Linked DNA regions of Homo sapiens: regions 1 and 2 are each linked to region 3. The links are contacts of gene promoters, found by promoter capture Hi-C in blood cells and fetal thymus (Javierre and others, 2016). All regions are on one chromosome and are shown on one strand. Each heading gives the region's core, a stretch centred on a gene start or on the middle of the fragment in contact. The rest is flanking DNA. Distances are from core to core; before and after follow the strand shown.

Evidence for each region. The method cuts DNA at HindIII sites, captures the fragments that hold promoters and counts their contacts. A CHiCAGO score of 5 or more calls a contact.
Region 1: a contact is called between a fragment that was not itself captured here and the fragment with the promoter of FAM83F in region 3, in 1 of 17 cell types (M0 macrophages). The highest score is 5.2, in M0 macrophages.
Region 2: a contact is called between a fragment that was not itself captured here and the fragment with the promoter of FAM83F in region 3, in 3 of 17 cell types (M0 macrophages, M1 macrophages and M2 macrophages). The highest score is 7.1, in M0 macrophages.

What each region holds. Positions count from the first base shown.
Region 1 is chr22:39,765,204-39,767,903 of GRCh38, reverse strand. It overlaps ENTHD1 (ENTH domain containing 1), which reads left to right. Exons shown (of 7, transcript NM_152512.4): 6 at 2,295-2,681. Among named protein-coding and RNA genes, the nearest start is that of ENTHD1, 130 kb to the left of the region's middle. The HindIII fragment of the contact is 606 bases long and covers 1,148-1,753 here.
Region 2 is chr22:39,742,184-39,745,007 of GRCh38, reverse strand. It overlaps ENTHD1 (ENTH domain containing 1), which reads left to right. Exons shown (of 7, transcript NM_152512.4): 7 at 725-1,964. The coding sequence ends at 1,329. Among named protein-coding and RNA genes, the nearest start is that of ENTHD1, 150 kb to the left of the region's middle. The HindIII fragment of the contact is 1,525 bases long and covers 579-2,103 here.
Region 3 is chr22:39,993,532-39,996,231 of GRCh38, reverse strand. It overlaps FAM83F (family with sequence similarity 83 member F), which reads right to left and starts at 1,278. Exons shown (of 5, transcript NM_138435.4): 1 at 701-1,278. The coding sequence starts at 1,189. It overlaps LOC124905155, which reads right to left. Exons shown (of 2, transcript XM_047441700.1): 2 at 1,464-1,884. The coding sequence ends at 1,464. RefSeq lists a silencer at 1,236-1,355 and an enhancer at 930-1,563. The HindIII fragment of the contact is 8,768 bases long and covers 1-2,700 here.

The DNA of each region.
Region 1 (2,700 bases), core at 201-2,700, 230 kb after region 3:
GGGTAGAAATGGAATGACTTCTGTCTGGTTTGCTTCATTGAATTTTAAGGATTTGTTCATTTGTTTCATTTTAAACTTTTTTACTAAACCTTAAAATGGCAGCCATACAGACAACTTTATGCATCTGAATTTTGAGATTTAGATTAAGTATTGTGAATATTTTCATCAGAAAGTTCTGGTCATTCTGAAATGTCCTAGTTTAATATTGCTAAATTTTAAGATGATCTTATTACATATAGAGCAAAACATTTTTGTCTTGTTTTTCTCACATGTAAAATGAAAGTCAATGGAAAAATATTTAACTAAAATTCACTTTTAATGAATGATTTGATGTAAATGTGGTGATATGCAAAGTCACTTTGAAATACCATAAATCTAGTAATCTAGTACTCAACTAGGAATATATTCGTTTGGGTGTTTTGTTTTGTTTTGTTTTGTTTTTCATAGAAATGGGGTCTCACAATGTTGCCCAGGCTGGTCTCAAACTCCTGGGCTCAAGTGATTTTCCCACCTCAGCCTCCCAGTAGCTGGGACTACAGGCACTGCGCCTGGCTTATATTTGGTATTTTTAACAGACTTTCAATCATCTAAATATAATTCAGTCATATGCAAATTAGGAATATTTTAGGAGAGGTTCTTTTCATCTACCTATTTCCTTTAATCATTATTAAGCAGTTAAACTATATTCAGTTTAGAAAAATGAAGGCGTTACTTTTTCTTTCATCTTTGTGCTTCAGTTTCCCTTGCACCCAATGAGCATTCATTGAACCTGTCCTCTGGGAATGGCACTGTTAGGTGCTGAGACACGAAGATGACTCCTTGCAAGGTCTCCTCAAGGAGACTTTTGTCAGGTAGGGGACAAGATAAATGAGATATGAAGTGTTATAATTACTCACAGAGCTTCAAACAGGACATGTGAAGATAGACAATAATAGGATAGGGTGAGGAAAGAAAAGGGTCAGGGCAAGCTTTAAAGAGAAAGTGATACTTGAATTGAGTTTTAAAAGATGAGAGGATGGAAGAAAAATGGAATTTCTGGTGAAGATAGCAATGTAAGTTTCTTGAACTGTCTTAATTCTGTGGTACATACCAGCAGTATTTTTGCTAAGGCTAACCTCCAACTGCAGATGAAAATGAAAAGGAAGCTTTATAGAGACAAAGAAAAGTTTCTTTTCTTTAATAACTCAGAGCCCAAAAGTGATGAGGATAGCATGTAAATGTGCATTCTGAAGTATTTTATGACATACATTGTGATGTATAATCACTCAATAGTGAATCACACAATTTCTGCGTCCTCTTTTGGGAGCTTCGAAAGATAGCCTCTTCCTTTGGCCCTCTTCTACCTCATCATGCTTCTCGTTTCATGAACACAACCTCATAAAAATAACGGTCTTTCTTTTCGTATCCCGGTTCAGATGGAGCTGTTACAGAGCAAGCCCTGGCGCTGAGGGTGTTCCTAAGAATTTGCATCTAGAAACTCGGACCAGGTCTATAATGCGTAGATTCAATAGACATTCCTGGATCAGGCCCACCTTCAGTTTCAGTTTCTTACAATTCCTTCAGTGTTTTCTATTTGTAATAAATATTGTTTGTTATATTCTAGGGACTATTTTATGTACTTTGGTGATATTAACCACTAGAATGGACAAAGATCTCCAGCCCAGTGGAACTTATATTTTACTAATTGTCAGAACAGCTCTGAAAGATTGTTTCCTTTCTTCCGTATAGACAAAGCATTTATTAAAATTAAGCTTCTACCTAAAGTACTGAGTTTCTTTAATGTGCCTTGCATATAGAAACTGTGTGGAAGAAGACATTCTTTATTTTTGGGGAGAAAGCTTTTCTTTTTCTTTCTTTTTTTTTTTTTTTTTTTTTTTTTTTTTTGTAGCTGAGGGTTCTGTAAGGATAGACCAGTATGATGTGGCATATTTTCCCTAGTTTATCTTGTAAAAAAGATGAAAGTTGGAAAGTACTAAAAATATGGTGGTTTCAGCGACAGATAAGTGGGTGAAGGGAGAAATATTTAAAGACAAGTTATTTGAAGCTTTCCTTGCTTTGTGCTTCAGTGAGGAGAGAGGGAGAAGGCAGCTACCAAAATGACTAAGGCGTCAATTATAGCTTGGGTGTACTTTAAATAGGCAGAATATAGAAGCATAGTAAGAAAGCAGAGGGCTAAATAGGAAAGAATTCTGTTATGACATTAAAAAATCCTATTTATTAAAATTATAACAGATTTGAAATAGAGTATTTTCAGTTTTATTTTTTGATTATAGCTCTTATTTGTTCTTTTATAGATGCTGTGCCTACTCTCTCAGAAAATAGTCCTTCTGGGCAGAGAGATGTGAGTTTGGACAAGAGATCAGATGGTATCTTTACAAATACTGTCACAGAAAACCTCTTGGAAACACCTTTAGAAAAGCAATCAGCTGCAGAAGGTCTTAAAACATTGACAATTTTACCAGCATGTTGGTCAAGTAAAGAGGAGTTTATCAGCCCCGACTTAAGGGTATCAAAGTCAGATTCTACTTTCCATAACCAGGCCTCTGTAGAAACACTCTGTCTCTCTCCCTCATTCAAAATATTTGACCGAGTGAAGGAGATTGTAATCAACAAGGCCTACCAGAAACCAGCACAATCCAGCATTCAGATGGATGATAAAATCCTCAAGACAACCACACGGGGTGAGTCTGCCAAACACAC
Region 2 (2,824 bases), core at 92-2,591, 250 kb after region 3:
CAGAAAAGTTTGGGAAATGATTTAGAATAAAGTGTGGGAGATTTAATATGATTTTGCCAGAAAGGAAGTAAAAACTTTCCCAAATATGTAATTTTATGGAAAAAAAGGCTTAGAATGCTTTTTACTTCACTTAGTTTCTTGGTGAGAAAAAAAATGATTATATACGTGTGCTAAAGTATTCTAGATTTCAGATGTGTTGGACTTCAGTCTTGATTATATTTCACTATAGACAGAAAAATATTTATTTCACTAACTTTTGGGTACTTGTAGTTGGTAGTTCATTTTGCCATAATAATCTCTACAGGAAAAAAAATTAAAAAGTTGAAGGAATCTGTTACAGGTTTCTCACTTTCTACTTTAAATACCAACTTAAAATGCTGGCAGTCAGTAGAATGGGGTTTAATACTTTTCTACTCTCTCTGATTAAGTTTAGTGTAAAAATATGTTGGGCAGGGTTTGAGTCAAGATGAGTCAAGATGAATATTGATAATTCTATTTTAGTTTCATTTCCATGGTATTATTGATATATAATACATCTGTAGATTTTCTTAGTTTCCTGCTTTGGGTTTTTTTAAGCTTATTATGAATAGTTAACATTTAAAATTCTAAGCAGTTTATTTATGTTGAGCCCTTCCAGATAGGCTTTTACATTATAAAATTATTTTAGCTATTACTCTCATTTGTATGTTGCATAAATCTTTTTTCTCTCATTTACACATTTTAGTTTCAACTGCTTCTGAGGGAGCATCTTCCTTTTCTCCTTTATCCATGTCATCTCCTGATTTAGCCTCTCCAGAGAAGTCAGCTCATCTCTTATCACCAATTCTGGCCGGACCTTCCTTCTGGACTCTGTCCCATCAACAGTTGTCTTCTACCTCCTTTAAAGATGAAGATAAGACAGCCAAGCTGCATCACTCCTTTGCTTCTAGGGGCCCAGTGTCTTCTGATGTAGAGGAAAATGATAGCCTCAATCTACTGGGAATTCTTCCAAATAACTCTGATTCTGCTAAAAAGAATATAAGTCACATTTCTAGTAGTCACTGGGGGGAGTTTTCCACCCAAAATGTAGACCAGTTCATCCCTCTGTCCTGTTCTGGTTTTCAGTCAACCAAAGACTTCCCCCAGGAACCTGAAGCAAAGAATTCCATTAGTGTTCTTTTAAGGGAGGTAAAACGTGCGATCGCTAGATTACATGAAGATCTGAGCACAGTGATCCAAGAACTTAATGTCATCAATAACATCTTGATGAGCATGAGTCTGAATAGTTCACAAATAAGCCAGTCTTCCCAGGTCCCCCAGTCTTCTGAGGGGAGCTCAGATCAGATCTAATCATCACAATATCTATTTTTGATAGAACTCGTGTGGTTCCACTTCCCCAAGACTTACGTTAGCATTGTATAAATTCATATTATTATGGCAAAAAAGGGGATGGTTTAATTTTTCCTTGTCAGGTTTATTAGCAAGTATCTTTCAAACTAATACTTTCATTTGGGTGGTTTATTTTTTAAAAGGGAAAGATGTCACCTTTGATAATTTCAGATTTAGATATTAGTTCATTTGAAACAGAAGAGAATTTCATTCTTTCATGCTCTGTACCTCAAATGGGTTAAGCATTAGTGAAAATTGTGGTAAGACCTCAAACTGCAAATGACTATTCAAGAGCTTTTGGATAAGGAGGCAGGAAGAAGCTCTTTATCTTTCAACTGTATGGAGCTTGTTAACAAGCCTCTGAGGTGACCTAGGAGGATTGAGTTTGGGGGTATACATTTCACACATTCTTTTGCAAGTTTTAGGTTCTGCAACCAAGGGCCAGAAATCTTTTCTTTCTTCCAGATGCTAGTGTTAGGAGTTAAATGGAAACAAGAAGGACATGGGGCAAATGTTTTTACTGTCAATGTATATTGCAAGGTGAATTCAAATGCATCCTTTTATTCTACTTCAGAAAATAAATTTGATATTTTTCATCTTCTGTGTATCTTTTTAATTCATTAAGACAGCCTTTCAAATAGAAATGTCTGTTATTTATGGGCAAAACAGTCCGGTTTGGGGATTACAGGCCAGTGATTCCCAACCCTGCTGCACACTGGAATCACCACAGAAGCTTTTCTTTTGTTTTATATTTGTCTGAGAGAATCGTGTAATGGGCTCCATGTGCCCATCACTCAGTTTCAACAATTACCAACTCGAGGCTAAAATAATCCTGATTATTTTGAAGACATACGAAACATTTTAAAAATATACTAATGCCAGGGTCCTGCTCCCAGACAAATTGAAACTGGTTTTCATCATGCAGACTGGATTAAGTGATAAAGGAATTGTCAGTGAAAAGACCTTAAAGCTGGAGGAATTTGGCGTGGTTGAAGAATGGCAAGAAAGCTGGTGTGGCTGGAGTGAAGTGAGCAAAGGGGAGAGTAGACGGAGTTCAAGGTCATGGAGCAAAGATGACAGATGACATAGGTTCTTAAAAACCACTGTTAGAGAGACCTGGTGTGGCAGCTTACATCTGTAATCCCAGCACTTTGGGAGGCCGAGGCAGGTGGATCACGAGGTCAGGAGTTCAAGACCAGCCTGGGCAAGATGGTGAAATCCCGTCTCTACTAAAAATACAAAAAAAAATTAGCCGGGCATGGTGGCGGGCACCTGTAATCCCAGCTACTCGGGAGGCTGAGGCAGAGAATCGCTTGAACTCTGGAGGTGGAGCTTGCAGTGAGCCAAGATTGTGCCACTGCACTCCAGCCACTGGGCAACAGAGTGAGAATCCATCTCAAAAAAAAAAAAAAAATTGTTAGAGATTTTGGCTTCTACTCTGTGAAAATAAAAATTA
Region 3 (2,700 bases), core at 29-2,528:
TTCCAACTCTCAAGCAGGACACATATGCTAAGTAGGAGCCCTTTCCTGAGCTGCCGAGTCAGGTGACCTGCTGTGCCAAGGCGCCCAGCACAGGGCCAGGCACACAGTAGGTCCTCAATATACCCCGTCCCCCATTCATTCCAGGCAGCTGGGGCCTAGTACCCGGCCCAGGAGAGGCTGTGACTGTGAGGGCGCCAGCTCAGCTTTGACTATGGGAGGAGAGGGGTGGTCCAAGGAGCAGCATGGCAGAGGTGGGACCGGGAAGGTCACCGCCACCCACTCCCTGAAGTTGTTTTGACGATCACATGAGAAAGCGGCTCGGGATATGTTCTGGGCAGCACGTAGGTTATCATCAAGACCTTTGAGTGGTGCATTTTAACCACAGGGCCTCGGCCCCCAGTCTTCCCTGGGGAGGAAGGCTGGACAGGGAAGTTTCAGAAGTACAGAGCAGAGCCAGTGCCTCTGAACGCTGGAATACCGACGGCTGACATCTGTCCAGCACCTTGTAATTTGCCAAACACGTTCCCAGCCATTCGCTCTACAGGCCTCACTGCAGCCCCAGGAAGTAGGGGCGGGTTGGGGCCCATTTTCCAGAGGGTGCTCAGGGCGGCCTGCCCCGGGCCCTGCCTGGGAGGTGGGGCCCGGTCCAGGGGACTGGGGCCGAGGTCCCAGCGGTGTGGGGGCGAAGGCGGGGGCCTACCTTCTGGGCCTGTTGGATCATCTGCCTGACCACCTGCTTGAGGTGCGGCGCCTTCTCGTCCTTGGGCGGGTGGGTGAAGAGCGTGACCCGGCTCACGCCGCGGTAGAAACCAGTGTCCGTCCAGCCCAGGTCCAGAGGAGGCACCTCGGTGTCGGAACGGTCGGGCCAGTAGGCCAGGGACTCGCCGGACTCAGCCGGCGCCGGCGCGGGGGCCTTGGCCTTGGCCTTGCTCTTGCCCCGGGCGTTGGCGGCGGGGACGGCGTCCTCGTAGGGGCTCCAGGCGGCCCGCAGGGCCTGGCGCTCCGGGCTGGAGAGGAAGTCCCGCAGCTGCTCCTCCTTGAGCCGCTCGCGGTAGGCCTGCTCGCCGCCGCCCAGCAGCGCCTCCAGCGCGGCCCGCCGCCGCTCGCAGTAGTAGAAGGCGGCCTGCGCCTCGGTCACCTTCTCGTTCACGTGCGCCTCGTCCAGGCAGTTCAGCTGGGACTCGGCCATGGCGCCCCGGCCCCGGCCCCGGCCCTGGCCCCGGCCCCGCCGCGGTCCGAGGTCCCACAGCCGCACCTGGAGCCGCCGAGGGGCGGGGCGCCTCACCTGGCCGCGAGCTCTGCCCCGGCCCGTCCCGCCCCGCCCCGCCGTCGGGGAGCGGCCAATCCGCGCGGGCGTGGCCGTCGGGCGGGGAGGGGCCGCCGCCTCCGCCGGGCTCGCCGGGACCTCCGGGCGGCCTGGCGGACGCGGTCGGGCCCGGGCCTGCAGGGCCCACCAGCCGGGGCTAGAGTCCCTGAGGGGACGCCCCCAGGGGGCGGGGCCGTCGCAGACCCACGTGCGGGCTCCGGCCCCGACTCCTCCGCGGGGTAAAGGTTCGCTGTCCGGCCCTCGCTGCCATCCGCCCCCGCCGGCCGCGTCGCGGGTACGAGTTCATTTTCCGCGCACGTGGAGTCCGGAGCACGTGTTCTGGCCCAGTGGCCTCTGGGGCCGCCGAGCTGACCCCTTCCCCGTCGAGGGTCCGGTGTTGGTGGGGGGGCCTGCTGCAGGACGGGATTGTGACGGCTGAGGAGCGGGCAGGGGGTGTGCAAAAGCGAAATGCTAATGAGAGCTCGAGCTCCCCACCCTTGCGTCCCAGTTCTGAGATCAGAGCCCTTCTGGGCTGGGAGTCCAACACCTTCACTGTAAAACTTTCTTTTAAAAAATAGCTATCCAAACAGAAATGATGTAAAGAGCAGCAGTGGAATTCCCCCCGCCCCCACCTTAATTTGAAGTAGGGTGTGTGGTGTCTCTCCGTGTGTGTTTGGGCAAGATAGGCTGCCAGAGACATGATTACTATATTAGTGATTCAAAATGTATGTTTGAGCTCAAGGAAGGAAACCGCACGTGCGTGCACACCACACACACGCACACACACAGCAGCGGTGGCAGCAGCTCTGCTGTTTCCCATCGGATTAAATACAATCGTCTTAGTCATTAACATATTATGTTGTTCATGCACTGCTCTACAATTTGATTCTCCACATTCAAAATATTTTCAGATCATAACAACTAAAGGTTCACATTTCTCTCACTTTATAGCGCAGCATCTCAGAGCTGGAAGGAGCTTTTCAAGCTCCTCCAACCCCCTCATTTTACAGTTGAAGAAATTGAGGCCTAGCAACGTGTGCGTTGCCCAGGTCTCCCGTGAAAGAGGCAGAGCACGGGGACTGCAAGGTTTTCTGTCTTGGAGGTCTTTCGCTGACATCACGGCCGCCTTTACCCTTTCTCCTTTTCTTGTGAAACGACAGGTTATTGGGGACCTGGTTTTCACCCCAGGGGATTTGAAAAGGTCACTTACCATTTCTAGGCCTTCCTTTCATGCTCTGGAAAAAATGAGAGTTAGATTTTCAAATGTCTGCACATTATTGTTATTATTATTTTTTTTTTTACAATAATCAGTTCTGGCATCCTGTGTCAGCCCAAAGATTGGGAGTGGTGAGCAGCAAGGTGTCCATCACCTCACTTGTCCTTTACCCCTCTTG